2 separate regions of the Homo sapiens genome follow, and region 1 is linked to region 2. Evidence: promoter capture Hi-C in 16 types of primary human blood cells and fetal thymus (Javierre and others, 2016). All regions are on one chromosome and are shown on one strand. Each heading gives the region's core, a stretch centred on a gene start or on the middle of the fragment in contact. The rest is flanking DNA. Distances are from core to core; before and after follow the strand shown. Region 1 overlaps TSPAN2 (tetraspanin 2). Region 2 holds the start of HIPK1 (homeodomain interacting protein kinase 1).

What was found. The method cuts DNA at HindIII sites, captures the fragments that hold promoters and counts their contacts. A CHiCAGO score of 5 or more calls a contact.
Region 1: a contact is called between a fragment that was not itself captured here and the fragment with the promoter of HIPK1 in region 2, in 1 of 17 cell types (naive CD8 T cells). The highest score is 6.0, in naive CD8 T cells.

The regions. Positions count from the first base shown.
Region 1 is chr1:115,059,328-115,065,656 of GRCh38, forward strand. TSPAN2 (tetraspanin 2) reads right to left here. Exons shown (of 8, transcript NM_005725.6): 3 at 2,808-2,905; 4 at 1,137-1,211. Among named protein-coding and RNA genes, the nearest start is that of TSPAN2, 27 kb to the right of the region's middle. RefSeq lists an enhancer at 3,005-3,528. The HindIII fragment of the contact is 8,678 bases long and covers 333-6,329 here.
Region 2 is chr1:113,926,077-113,932,280 of GRCh38, forward strand. HIPK1 (homeodomain interacting protein kinase 1) reads left to right here and starts at 3,248. Exons shown (of 16, transcript NM_198268.3): 1 at 3,248-3,456. It overlaps HIPK1-AS1 (HIPK1 antisense RNA 1), which reads right to left and starts at 3,449. Exons shown (of 3, transcript NR_110726.1): 1 at 3,286-3,449; 2 at 2,168-2,312. RefSeq lists an enhancer at 3,159-3,478 and silencers at 3,599-3,648, 3,669-3,978. The HindIII fragment of the contact is 2,173 bases long and covers 2,161-4,333 here.

The DNA of each region.
Region 1 (6,329 bases), core at 3,422-5,921, 1.1 Mb after region 2:
ACATATGGAGAAGATTATAGTTTCTGGAGTTTCTAAGATGCTTTTGAGGATGGAAGGACAGACTAACCAGAACAGTTTTCATGGACTAGAAAGATTTCTGACAGTTCCCAAGCCCAACTGGGCTTCAGCATCAACTGGGCCCCAGATTCCTGGGCTCCATCCAGATGATTTGGATGCATAGCTAGGATCCGGACTTATACATTCCTGTTACCCCATTGGTTAAAAGCATTCAAATCTTTTTATGACGTGGTTTAAAAGGTATTCATCACCAAGGAAAACTTTCTACATTCAGATATCATATAAAGCTTAGAGAATGCTTTTTCTAGTATAAAAGCTTGTGATTTCAAATCCACAGATATCTCAACAGGTCCTAAGATTCCATTCTACTTCTGTATGTAGCTGAATTTAAACTAACCTATGAACACAGCCAGTTACTTTAGAAAAATTCAAAAGGAGGTGACATTTACTATTCTACATGTTTACTGTTTTATAGTCTAAAATAAGTTCAGAAACATAATATTAATGACACAAGAGTTAATGTGAAATACACCAAACTTAAGTTTCCATTCTTCCTCCTTTTCCATTCCATTCTCTTCTATCCCACAGTGTGTTTTACAGAGGAAGAAAGGCTACTTCCTCTGTGTGTCCCCCCGATAACCTATTCTGGACACCTAGAGTTGGGCAGCAAATATAAACTGGCTTCACTAGCCCACAGCAGTGTAGGCTCTGCTCTTTGAGAATGAAATGGACCCATCCAGGCCAATCCTTAAGGACAAATGGCAGTCTGACAGGGGATGAGAATCTAGATTCTTTCTCAAGTCTGTACTCTAACTGTTACCCCATTTCACAATGGGGAAGAATCTTAAATTAGAGATCCTTTTTTTTTTGGTTTTATTATAGACCACTTCATAAGTCTAATGGAAGAGATGAACTATCTCCCCAGAAAAATGTGAGCATGTATATATGCCTGCACACTCATATACATATATGCTCAGTTCTGCACACCACTTCTAAGTTAAAAAGTTCTGTTTAAACTATAATAATGGGGATTATTTGGTTTCTTAACACTATTGTGGGTATCAATATTCTAACACTTTTAACCATCATAGAAAAACATTATAAGTAATTTTACTTACTACCCCCTTGCCTATAAAAGCAAATACTCCAGTGGTTACTTCAGCAGCAAATATCACCAGGAGGCAGGTAAAAAACTGTAGAGGAGAGAAAATACTAATTTCATTAATTTAATACCTTTTCAATTTATATATTTTGCACCTTAGTTTCCTTATGTAATGGCTGAATCGCTTTCATGTGGTTCATTCATTCATTCATTCATTCAGCAATTGTTTATTAGGCATTTATTCTGCACCAGGTACTGTCCTTGGTGCTGACTATTCAGTGGTGAACAAGATAATATCCAAATGTCTCTGTTATCACGGACCTTGGATTGGACAGAGGAATATACGATAACTGTGTAAAGAAGTTAAAAAGTGAATAAGATAAGTTCAGGTAGTGATGTAAAAATCCCACCACCTAGAACACCACCTGGCACCTACGTGCTTAGTAAATACTTGACGAACACAAAAGACCTAGAAAGATATAAAATAAGGTCAGGAGAGGGAGCATCACTGATGCGGCCTGGGCATGGGGAAGGGGGTGACTGGAGATTCTGTGGTCTGGAAAGGCTTCTTTGAGGAGATGAGGTGAGGGGTGTCCTTCTGGATGGATTTCTGTTCTGGTCTATGGATTTGCTCTGATCAAACTAAGTTCAGTGATAAACAAGACAGAAATGTGCTCAACAGTAGGAGAAAGAGAAGGAATGAATGGCAAAGAAATAAGTCAGACATTTCACATAGCAAGAGATCAGAGGCTACGGCCAGAGTTAAAAATCCAAATATCACAATAAGTAATGAGAGATGAGAGGCTGCCTATTAAAACTGCTGTTTCTGACTCCCTGTGGAGAAATATCAACACTTTCTCTCCTCCTGCCCCTCTTCTTCCTTTCTGTTTCTCTCAGGCTACACTGACATAGAATGTATAGCAGTTAATTGAAATTATTTGATTTTTGTTTTAAACAGAGGTTGCTTGTTAAAATAAGCCACAAGAGGGATTTTGGTTAAGTTATTGATCTCAAACATAAATGTTTTCCTTGTAGATAACAGCACTTCCCTGGCTATAGAAACCTTTTAGCTGCCTCACCCACTGTGAAATATTTTTTTTTAAAGAACAATCATAGTCACCCCTTACAATTACTAAGTACTTTTACTCCCAAAACATCTTTACACCAATGACGTCATTTCTTTTCACACTTCCCATATAAGGCAGGAACAAAGATAATATTTTTTTTCTTTTTTCTTTTTTCAAGACAAGGTTTTGCTCTGTCGCCCAGGTTGGAGTGCAGTGGTACAGTCATGGCTCACTGCAGCCTCCCAACTCCTGGTCTTAAGTGATCCTCCTGCCTCAGCCTCCTGAGTAGCTGGGACCACAGGTGTGTGCCATCACACCCGGTAGAGACTAGGTCTCCCTGTGTTGCCCAAGCTAGTCTTAAACTCCTGGGCTCCAGAGATCCTCCTGCCTCAGCCTCCCAAAGTGCTGGGATTACAGGCGTGAGTCATGGCACCCGGCCCTAGTTAGTATTATTCATATATAAGAGATGGAGAAACCAAGACTGAGGGAGGAAAAGTGCATGCCAAGGGCTCAGAGAGTCCACGGAGGAGCTGGAGCCAGGGGCCAGAGGCACTGACTCCCTTCAGATGCAGGCCGCTCCCTCACCCCCACCCCACCATTTACCCCCTCGCCCCACTTACTGATCCAAGCACACATTGCGACTCCCGCATGGCTCCGCAGCACCCGAAGAACCCCACGGCCATCATCAGGGCCCCGGCTCCAACCAGAACATACAGCCCTGTGGGGAAGAGGTCAGAGGAGACCACTGAGAGCCAACCGAGTGCCTCCACGACCAACTAGGCTTAAGACTCTGGGCACTGCAGAGCATTCTAATAGTACCAAAAGGAGGTGCTATTCTTACTGCCATGTTTGACACGGAGGAACTGGGCCCCAAAAGGTAAAGCGATTTGCTTAAGGTCATAGAGCTGGTGTTTGGCAGAGCCGGGAGAAAAATAGCCATGAGCCTCAAAAGCCTGCCCAACACTCCGACTCTGTCTTGCATCTCTAGTGATGGAGGCAGCCATCATTCAGGTGGGGATTTCACTTACTGCTTAGGCAAGCCCCACGTACAGTTCTTACAGAGAAAGAAAAGGACAGAAATGCTCTGGTTCTGAGAGAACTAAAGCCAAGCCTTTTTGTATTTCCTTCTCTGATCCTGAGATAAGTTAGAATACAATATGGGACTTGGCACTTGTCTTACTTGGAATCATGTTAATGGTCTCTATTTCATTTTTTGCATTTTACTCATATGAGTCACCTGGAAACCACTCCCATTAATAGGGAGGGTGGGGGCTGGTGCCCCGCCTCTGTGGGGAACCCCTGGGCCTGGCATTCAGGGTGCTTCCTGGGGCGCCTCTGGGTTGCTGATGGTGGTTTGCGGGCAGATCTGGCAGTTTACAGACCTAGTAGGAGCCACAGGCGAGGCTGCTCTGCTTCCTGCCCCACCCGGACCTGGCCTCAGCGTTCTTTTCAGGGCCCTGAGGCCTTGCTGCTCTGCAGTCCTGAGGTGGGTATTTATTTCCTGCTGTTCTAGCTCTACCACCTCCTCCCTTTCCCTTTTCTCTAAAAGAATAATTTCATGAGGGAATGGATGTGGTAATGTGAGAAATGATATCATATTAAAAATAATAGTGTTGTTGGCCCCACTACCTCAACACTTTATTGTTTTAAAAATGTCTTTCACCAAAGGTCTAATATCCAGAATCTGTAAGGAACTTAAACAAATCAACAAGCAAAAGGCAAATAACTCCATTAAAAAGTGGGCAAAAGACATAAACAGACAATTCTCCAAAGAAGACATGCAAGCGAGCAACAAACATGAAATAATGCTCGTCATCTCTAATCATCAGAGAAATGCAAATCAAAACCACAATGAGATACCATCTCATACCAGTCAGAATGGCTTTTGTTAAAAAGTCAAAAATAACAGATGTTGGCAAGGCTGGGAGTAAAGGGGACACTTTATACAATGTTGCGAATGTAAATCAGTACAGCCACTGCAGAAGGCAGTTTGGAGATGACTCAAACAACTGAGTTGAACTACCACTCGACCCGGCAATCCCATTGCTGGGTAAATACCTAAAGGAAAATAAGTCATTCTGTCAAAAGGGTACATGTTCACTGCAGCACTATTCACAACGGCAAAGGTATGGAATCAACCCAGGTGCCCATCAATGGTAGATAGGATAAAGAAAATGTGGTACATATACACCATGGAATACTATGCAGCCATAAAAAAGAACAAAATCATGCCCTTTGCAGCAACATGAATGCAGCTGGAGGCCATTATCCTAAGCAAACTATCACAGGAACAGAACATCAAATACCGCATGTTCTCACTTATAAGTAGGAGCTAAATATTGGGTACACATGGACATAAAGATGGGAATGATAGATACTGGGGACTACTAGAGGGGCACAGGTGTTGAAAAACTAACTATTGGATACTATATTCATTACCTCAGTGACAGGTTCAGTCATACCCCCAATCTCGGCATCACTCAATGTACCTTTGTAACAAACCTGCCCATGTACCCCCTGATTCTAAAATGAAAGTTGAAAAAGAAAAAAAAAAGTCATTCACTGTGTTGCAATGTTTTCAAAGCTCTCACTTCCATCATCTTATTGGCTTCTCAAAACAACGTGGTTAGGTAAGCAAGGACTATTATTTCTGTTTTACAAATGGAGGTCTGAGAGTCAAGATGGCTGTAGGCAGGATGCCCTGGCCTGCAGCCCCAATTCCCATCCCACACTTCTATTTGACCACCCCACAGAAGCGAGCTGAATGCAGGGCGGCAGCAACAACACCATATTCAGTTCCTTCATGGAATGTCTCCTGGTGGACCCCCTTGCTGCAGAACATGCCCATTGCCTCTCATTGCTACTGCCACAATTGCTACATGATGCCGTTTGCAGATCTATCATGAAGTCACAGCCTACAGAACAGTTTCCCCCAAAATCTTTATCCATCCTATGCTCCAGCCACCTGGGAATTCACCATGATCTGGCTGTGTCCTGCTCTTTTCCATTTTGTGCTTTTGCAGGTTCTCATATTAGTCTCTCATTATAGATTTCAAGTTGACAAACCTTATTCATCCTCTCTAGAACATGCCCTGCACAAGGCAGAATTCTTAGTCAGTGTGCATTGGATTAGTAGATAAGACAGAGAAAATCAAATCAGTTCCAGGCTTGCTGGCTGTCATCACCCATCTTTGCTTAGAGATATATGCTGGAAACAGGTCTCAGCAAACATCCACAAAGCAACTACATAGCTGTGCTCTCCAAAGCCAAGCACATGAGGATGGTTGCTTCGCACCCCGAGACACCCTGGAATATGTGAAAGAGGGAGGCTCGTGAGGAGGCAGGAGGCTCACTGGACAGGGGCACAGAGGTTTGAGGAGGCCAGAGTTGTTCCCCACTGTAAATGAAACTGTCTGCTCCCTCAGGCAACAATCCTTATCCTTCTGAAATAATGAGCTTTTCAGGAAAGTGTGCTTTTTTGAACAATATTTCATTCTTAGGCTATCAGAATCCCAGAGCTCACGGCAAAAACAACCTGAAGCTGCCCTAGCAGCTTCAACTTTGAGGCCACTTCTCAGCCAGCCTCTGTTTTGTATGTGTGGGCCCGTGACTCAGCCCAGCTCCAAATGAACATTGCTTGCTGAAGCTGAAGGGAAAAGCAGAAGAAATTCTACAAGAGGAAAGGTTCCCTGGGCGTGCCGGATCCAGTTCCAAATCTGGCTCTAATACTCCGCATGCCATAAGGCCACCTGTGGCTTCCAAGGATACTTTATCCTTCTTATGGTCTGACCCTCAAAAAATAGCTGCTGAATGTAATAATTAATTTACAGCCACATTTTAAATTCCAAGATGGTTACTGTAGAGCCTTCTCCTTCCCACAGGAGCAGGTGTGACAAACATACGACCTACTTCCCAAAGCCCTCATGCTTTCCGAGTCCTATTGCCTTTGATTTGAAAAATAGAAAACATTTTGAAATTACATTTTCATCATGAATAGCTGGCCTTTGGGATGCCAGTGATCTCTGTGACATGCTACCACAAGTACTTTCCCTGGGACACCTTCATTTTTAAAAATTTAAAAAGTATTTAAAATTATTTATTAATATCTTACTGATACATAATAGTTGTACACATTTTGGGGG
Region 2 (6,204 bases), core at 1,998-4,497:
CCACTGCACTCCAGCCTAGGTGACAGAGTGAGACTCTGTCTAAAAAAAAAAAAAAAAAAAAAAAAAAAAAAGGCATGTATGTGTGTAATATAACTCTATCTATCTATAACTGCAAATGATAAAGCAAAAGGGGCAAGATGTTAATAATCTGGGTCCTCTTTTTGTCACTCTTGCAACATATCTGTATGTTTAACATTATTTCCAAATAAAAAGTATTCTGGGGTCTGGATTTTTAAAAAATCATTGAGGTTCTCCTCCTGTTGGCTCAAGGGACTTTTCTGCTTTTTATCGTTTACTGCAGACCTTCACTCTAATCTGGTTTTCCCAGTTTCACAACCTGTTGGCTTCTATTTAAATTCTCTTTTTTTTCCTAGCCCCTAGGATTCACTATTTGTTTGAATAGTTTGCCTAGCTTTTTGGTTCAGCTTCTCTCAAGACACAGCCTTCTCATCAGCTTCTCCTATTTGGCCTTAAGCACTGCCGCTCTTGGGCAAATGACTTCTTGCCTGCAACACTGAATCTAGGCTGTAGGCCCTAGAAGGATGTCATACCCTGAATGAAACTTGAATGCTTCCGATTGCTAACTGCTCCACCTCCCTCTCCAGTTGCTCTGACTTGGTTTAGGAGGATGTATTTCACATATCTGCCCCTTCTCGCCTTCTTTCCTGTGTAATCAAACCCTCATCATAGTTTTCTGATTAGGATCCCTTTCTCCAGTCTTTACCCACTCCAGCTAGCCCTCTTCCTTCACCATCACTAGTTCTCTCTCACATTACCTGTCTGAATAAACTTCTTTTTTGAGACAGAGTCTGGCTCTGTTTGCCCAGCCTAGACTGCAGTGGCACGATCTCGGCTCACTGCAACCTCTGCCTCCCGGATTCAAGCGATTCTCCTGCCTCAGCCTCCCGAGTAGCTGGGATTACAAGCATATGCCACCATATCTGGCTAATTTTTGTATTTGTAGTAGAGATGGGGTTTCACTGTGTTGGCCAGGCTGGTCTTGAACTCCTGACCTCCAGTGATCTGCCACCTTGGCTTCCCAAAGTGCTGGGATTACAGGCATGAGCCACTGTGCCTGGCTACCTGTGCGAATAAACTTCTAACAGCTCTACATTGCCTTTCAAAATCTGACTCAATTTACCTTACTACTTCCAAATCGTGCAACTTCTCTGCTTAACTGTAAGCTCCTTCAGGGCACAGACCATGCCTTTTCTTCTGTGTATCCTTAATTTCTTTTTTTTTTATTTCTTTCTTTCTTTCTTTTTTTTTTTTTTGAGACAGAGTCTCACTGTCGCCCAGGCTGGAGTGCAATGGTGCAATCTCGGCTCATGGTAGCCTTCTTCTCCTGGGTTCCAGCGGTTCTTCTGCTTAAGCCTCCAGGGTAGCTGGGATTACAGGCATGCGCCACTACACTTGGCTAATGTTTGTATTTTTAGTAGAGACGGGGTTTCACCATGTTGGCCAGGCTGGTCTCGAACTCCTGACCTCAGGTGATTCACCTGCCTCAGCCTCCCGAAGTGCTGGGATTACAGGCATGAGCCACCACACCCAGCCCCTTAATTTCTTATATAGTGCCTAGCACACAGAAGATGCTCTATAAATAGTTACTGAATGGACAAATGACTAAACTTTGAAACTTCTTTGACCTTACTATGCTCAAATATCACTTCTGATGTTCTTCTCCGACTCTCTCACTTATCTTATATATGTCTGCACACGTTTTTTCCTCATTAGACTGTAAGGTCCCTGAGGGAAAAGACCATGCTTTATTCACCTGTCTCATTCATACCTGACCCAGTGTCTAGAAGAGTGTATAGCACAGAGCAGGCACACAAGCAGTTTGCTGGATGAATGAGTGAATGATACTAAAGAGGAGAAAATACAGACTTTAAGAAGCTCTCCGTATAGTGAGAAAGACTGAGGACCTAAGAGCAATGAAAATAGAAGTTAACAAGTATAAATAAAGAAGGTACAGGTTAATTTAAGTAATCAGATGATGATGCAGAATTCAAATAAAATAGGAGTCAATCAGCAAAGGTTCCCGAAAGGGTGAATTCTGAGAGATATTTGAAAAGAGGAAAGGGACATAACTTGAGAGAGCAGGAGTTTAGGAACATGTCAGAGAGTTAGGTTGAACCAAGGCATGATAAACATGTTTGAAGCTTACATTCTGAGCAGGATCTGTTCTACCCAGACCACAGGTTTCTGCCTTTTTTTCTGGCTCATCAAGCAGGCATGTTTACCCACTCTTTTTATCTTCATGTTTCCCAGGTCAGCCCAATGTGAGGACTTTAAGTAGTAGAAGGAAGTTTCTGTGAAAATATGCAAACAAAACTGCCTTGTGGGATCGAACATTTTTGGTAACCCTAGTTCTCTAGGGAAATAAACTTCCCTGTTCCAGATAAAATGGAACTGCTCCCCGTGTTGTTAAGCCAGAGAGAAAGCCAAATGACTTCCCTTAAAAGGTACTTCAGCGCATTTTACACAAATCATAGTTTTCTGTGTGTGTTATGGGGATCCAAGGAAATCAAAGATGTTAATGAGTGAGATTTGAGAAACAAAACTTGATAGTAGAATTTTGTCTTAGCCACAACTGCCCTTCTCCTCACAGAGTATATGCAAATACCGATGGTGACGGACAGTCACTTTCTAGAGCTCAGATCACTGCTGCCTCCAGCACTTGTGGGATGGAAAAAATGAAGAAATTACAGTTGCCCTAAAAATGTCCCCCACTTCAGGAACCTGAATATTTTACACAGCAGGAGATACATCGGAAGTCCTACAGAATCTCTTGACTTTGGGAGATGCAACTGCTTTTCTATTAGGATAACCTAATTTTCTGTGTCCATTTTCTCAGAATGTTGTGCCCAACGCGTTCTGTTTCCTAAATACCCAGCCTTCCTTCTGGTAGAGGCAAGAAAATTATGCTAGCATTCGCTCACTGCATGTTTTGAGCGTTTGAGTTCAGAGTACAGCTATTCTCTCTCCTCGTAATGTAAACACAGGTTCCCACGGCGGCAATGGGAGACTCCCCTAAGGGGCTCTTGACGTACAGGGAGACTTCCAGATATGGTACACAGATGTCACATTGCTAGAACGTCTCTAGACGGCAACGAAACATTAAAGCCTAACCTGAGGTAATCCCTCACCGGCAGTGAAGCTCCTCTGCTAGGCACTGTCGTCCCGTACACTGCCCAAGCTCTGGGGGTGTCACACTAAACTGTGGTGATGTCACACTAGCTGGGATGACATTTTACAGTTGGATCCCGTACCACCGCCAGGCACCTTTAAATCACCGCAGAGTCTGCAGTGCGGAGGGGGCGGGAAGTCCAGGCCCCGCACTCGATCCACGCTGGCTCCCTACGGAGGCCCACCTACTCGAGGCCCACCGACTCCTACTGCAATCAGTACTATGCGATCGTCCTAGAGAGTCCATTCAGCTGCACTTCCGCCTCAGTAGGTGTCATGGCGCGGGGCGGGTGAATAGTTCCGGCGAGGCGGGGCCGGCCGGGTTGAGGGACGGCCGCTCGGCATTCCGTTCGTCGGGTCTGGCGACAACGGCGGCTGCGGAGCAAGGGGCCCGGCGGTAGCCCCGGACGGCAGCAGGAGGCCGAGGCGGGAGCGCGCGGGGCTGAGGCGGCGGCGGCGGCGGCGGGAAGGGGCTGGGTGGTGGAGCGGGAGGGAGGCTGAGGAGGCTCCCCCTGCGGGACGGGCGCGGGGACGGCTCCGGGGGGCGGGGGCCGGGGCCCGGGCCGGCTCGCGCGGGGGGTATGATGACCCGGCTGCGGGGCCCCAGATCTCGTCTCCTCCGCCGCCTCCTCACGGCAGCCCCAGCTCGCGGCTGAGAACCAGACACACCGGCGGTGAGTGGGGACGGGCAGGAGGGGTCCTCGGCGGGGAGCGACTTCCCCTCAGCTCCCTGAGGCGGGGCCGGGCCGGCCGCCGGCTCTCCTGGAGCGCCCAGCCTGCCGGGGGCGCCTTCCTCAAAGGGCCCCTGCCTGGGACCGGGCGCCGCGTCTTGCGGCCCGGCCGCTCACTGCCGCTGAGGGGATTGCCTTCCCAGGAAGGTGGGGAGGCTCCGGGCTGGTTTTCGGGGCAACTCCCCCTGCCTCCTGCCACTTCTCGCCTGGGCGTGTTGTCCTTAAGTGACAGGGGACCGCCTTGCGTCTCCTCACTCGGCCGGTTTTTTCCCCGGCTGTCGTGGCAGGTTCCCAGTGTGTGGCTTGTGCGTGTGTACTTCACAGCTCCGCTTATCACCATGGTTTTGGGTTATTTGTGCTGTTTGGGACCAGGAAGCCGTGCCTGGAGAGGACGACAGTGGGGTGGGTGTGGAAGCTTTTCTGTCGTCTCCGCTGATGTTCTGTAGTCGTTAGGCTTGTAATTCGTAATGACGGTGGAGACTACGTGAGACCAGCCCACCTAATGTATATCTGTACAAGGGAGATCTAGAGGTCTGGCCCAAAGGGAAACTTTTGCTGCCACCACTTTCAAAGCTTTCGTTAAAAAAACAAAAGGGAGGGGGAAGGTGGAGAAACAACCAAAATTCTGGTAAGGCCCACACTGTTCACAGGTCTGTGGGGAAGAGTCCCCTTTTTGTGCTTAGCAACCAAGACGTGGAGTTCCGTCTCCAGGAGCGTTGGTCTAACCTCCAGTTTGTTGTGGTGACGAGCTGTGAGCAATGGCCTGTGTTTATGCTGGGCGAGCTTTCTTTCCTACTTGGGGAGGGGGGTTCAGGATGGGAGGATGCGGGTAGGGAAGAGGGGGGGAAAACCCCCAAGCTCCAGTAAGTCTTTTCTTTACTTAATCACTGATTCTGTTGTAGGTAGACTCATTTAGAGGCAGTCCTAGATGCTCTTTCTTGTCTATTAGTGACACTTTGGGAATTCTCAGTAATTGCATCAACATAATACTTTCAGCTATAGACTCTCTGTCCCAATCTGTCCTTTATCTTGTTTCTTAGTAACTGGTGAAAACAGCAGTGTGGCTTCCCGCTCTTGATGAAATAGGGTTAAATTAAGTGGCTGATGCCCTCAGCAAACCTACAATTTTCCTTTTGTTTGTGTAAAGCTATTTTTGATCTCTGGTCTGTGGGTTTTTTTTTTTTTTTTGTAAGATTATAGAGAATGCAAACTATTACTAGCTTTTTTCATATGGAAGCCTAAAGCTTTCTATAAAACATTTTAAAATCTAACAAATCATTTGACCTAATTTTCATTATTCAGCTGGTGATTTTGGATCTTTACATGTAATTATCTCAGGGTTCTGTGTTATAATACTGTTATGATGAAGGGTGGCATTGACTTTAAGATACTGTTCCTGGCTTGAAAGATATTTTAGTAAAGTACTTGCGGTTGGAACTGGAGGCAGCCAAGCCAGTAAAGTATCTTAGAATAAAATGGTGAATGAGATCTTATAAATATACTGGCTCTGGTTGGCAAGTAGAACTTTTGCTGGTGATACCTTCATGAATAGTTTATCTCTCGACACTGTAGTTTTGTGGTTTTTTGAGCAAGTTCGTTGGTAACTTGAGACTTCAAACCAAACCAGAACTTCCTTCTAAAAGAAAAAAAAAGAAGAGATAATCTCAAAGTTCACAATTCTTTGGAAAATAAACTTCTTTCATTCTGTGCTTTTGTTTTTATAAGCACAGCTCCATCAATGATTTGTTGGTACAAATCAGTGAGTCATACCGGCCTTGTAAAGTTCTTACACTTGGAACTTGTGCAGCTTGTTAGTTATATATTGTAACTGGTCTTGTAATTTGAAGTAATTTTGCAAACATGAGCTGCTTGATCTGCCACCTGCATGAGTGTATAACAGCAGTCTGTATTTTTTAGGTCTTTTTAAAAAAAATTTACTATTATTCCTCCCGTTATCTTCCCTTCCTCTCCCTTTGTGCCATTCTGAACACAAGTCATCAAGATTATTTTCCTTTAAGTACCACTTCAACAATCACTGGTTTGTCTTTTGGTTCCTTTTGTTTTTGTTCCTGATCTTCCCTTTAGTTGTTGGAACCCAGCTCCTAAATGCCTAATATATTCCTGTAGTGCATAATTTGGCACTTGAAAAATTTACATCCTGTTTTCATATTTTTCTTTCTTTTTCATGTGTTATATCATTTCAGCAACATTTTAAGTTTTTTGAAGGTAAGGAAACTTACATTTCTTTTAGATTCTTTAAGGGTACCTGGTACAGTGCTTTCCC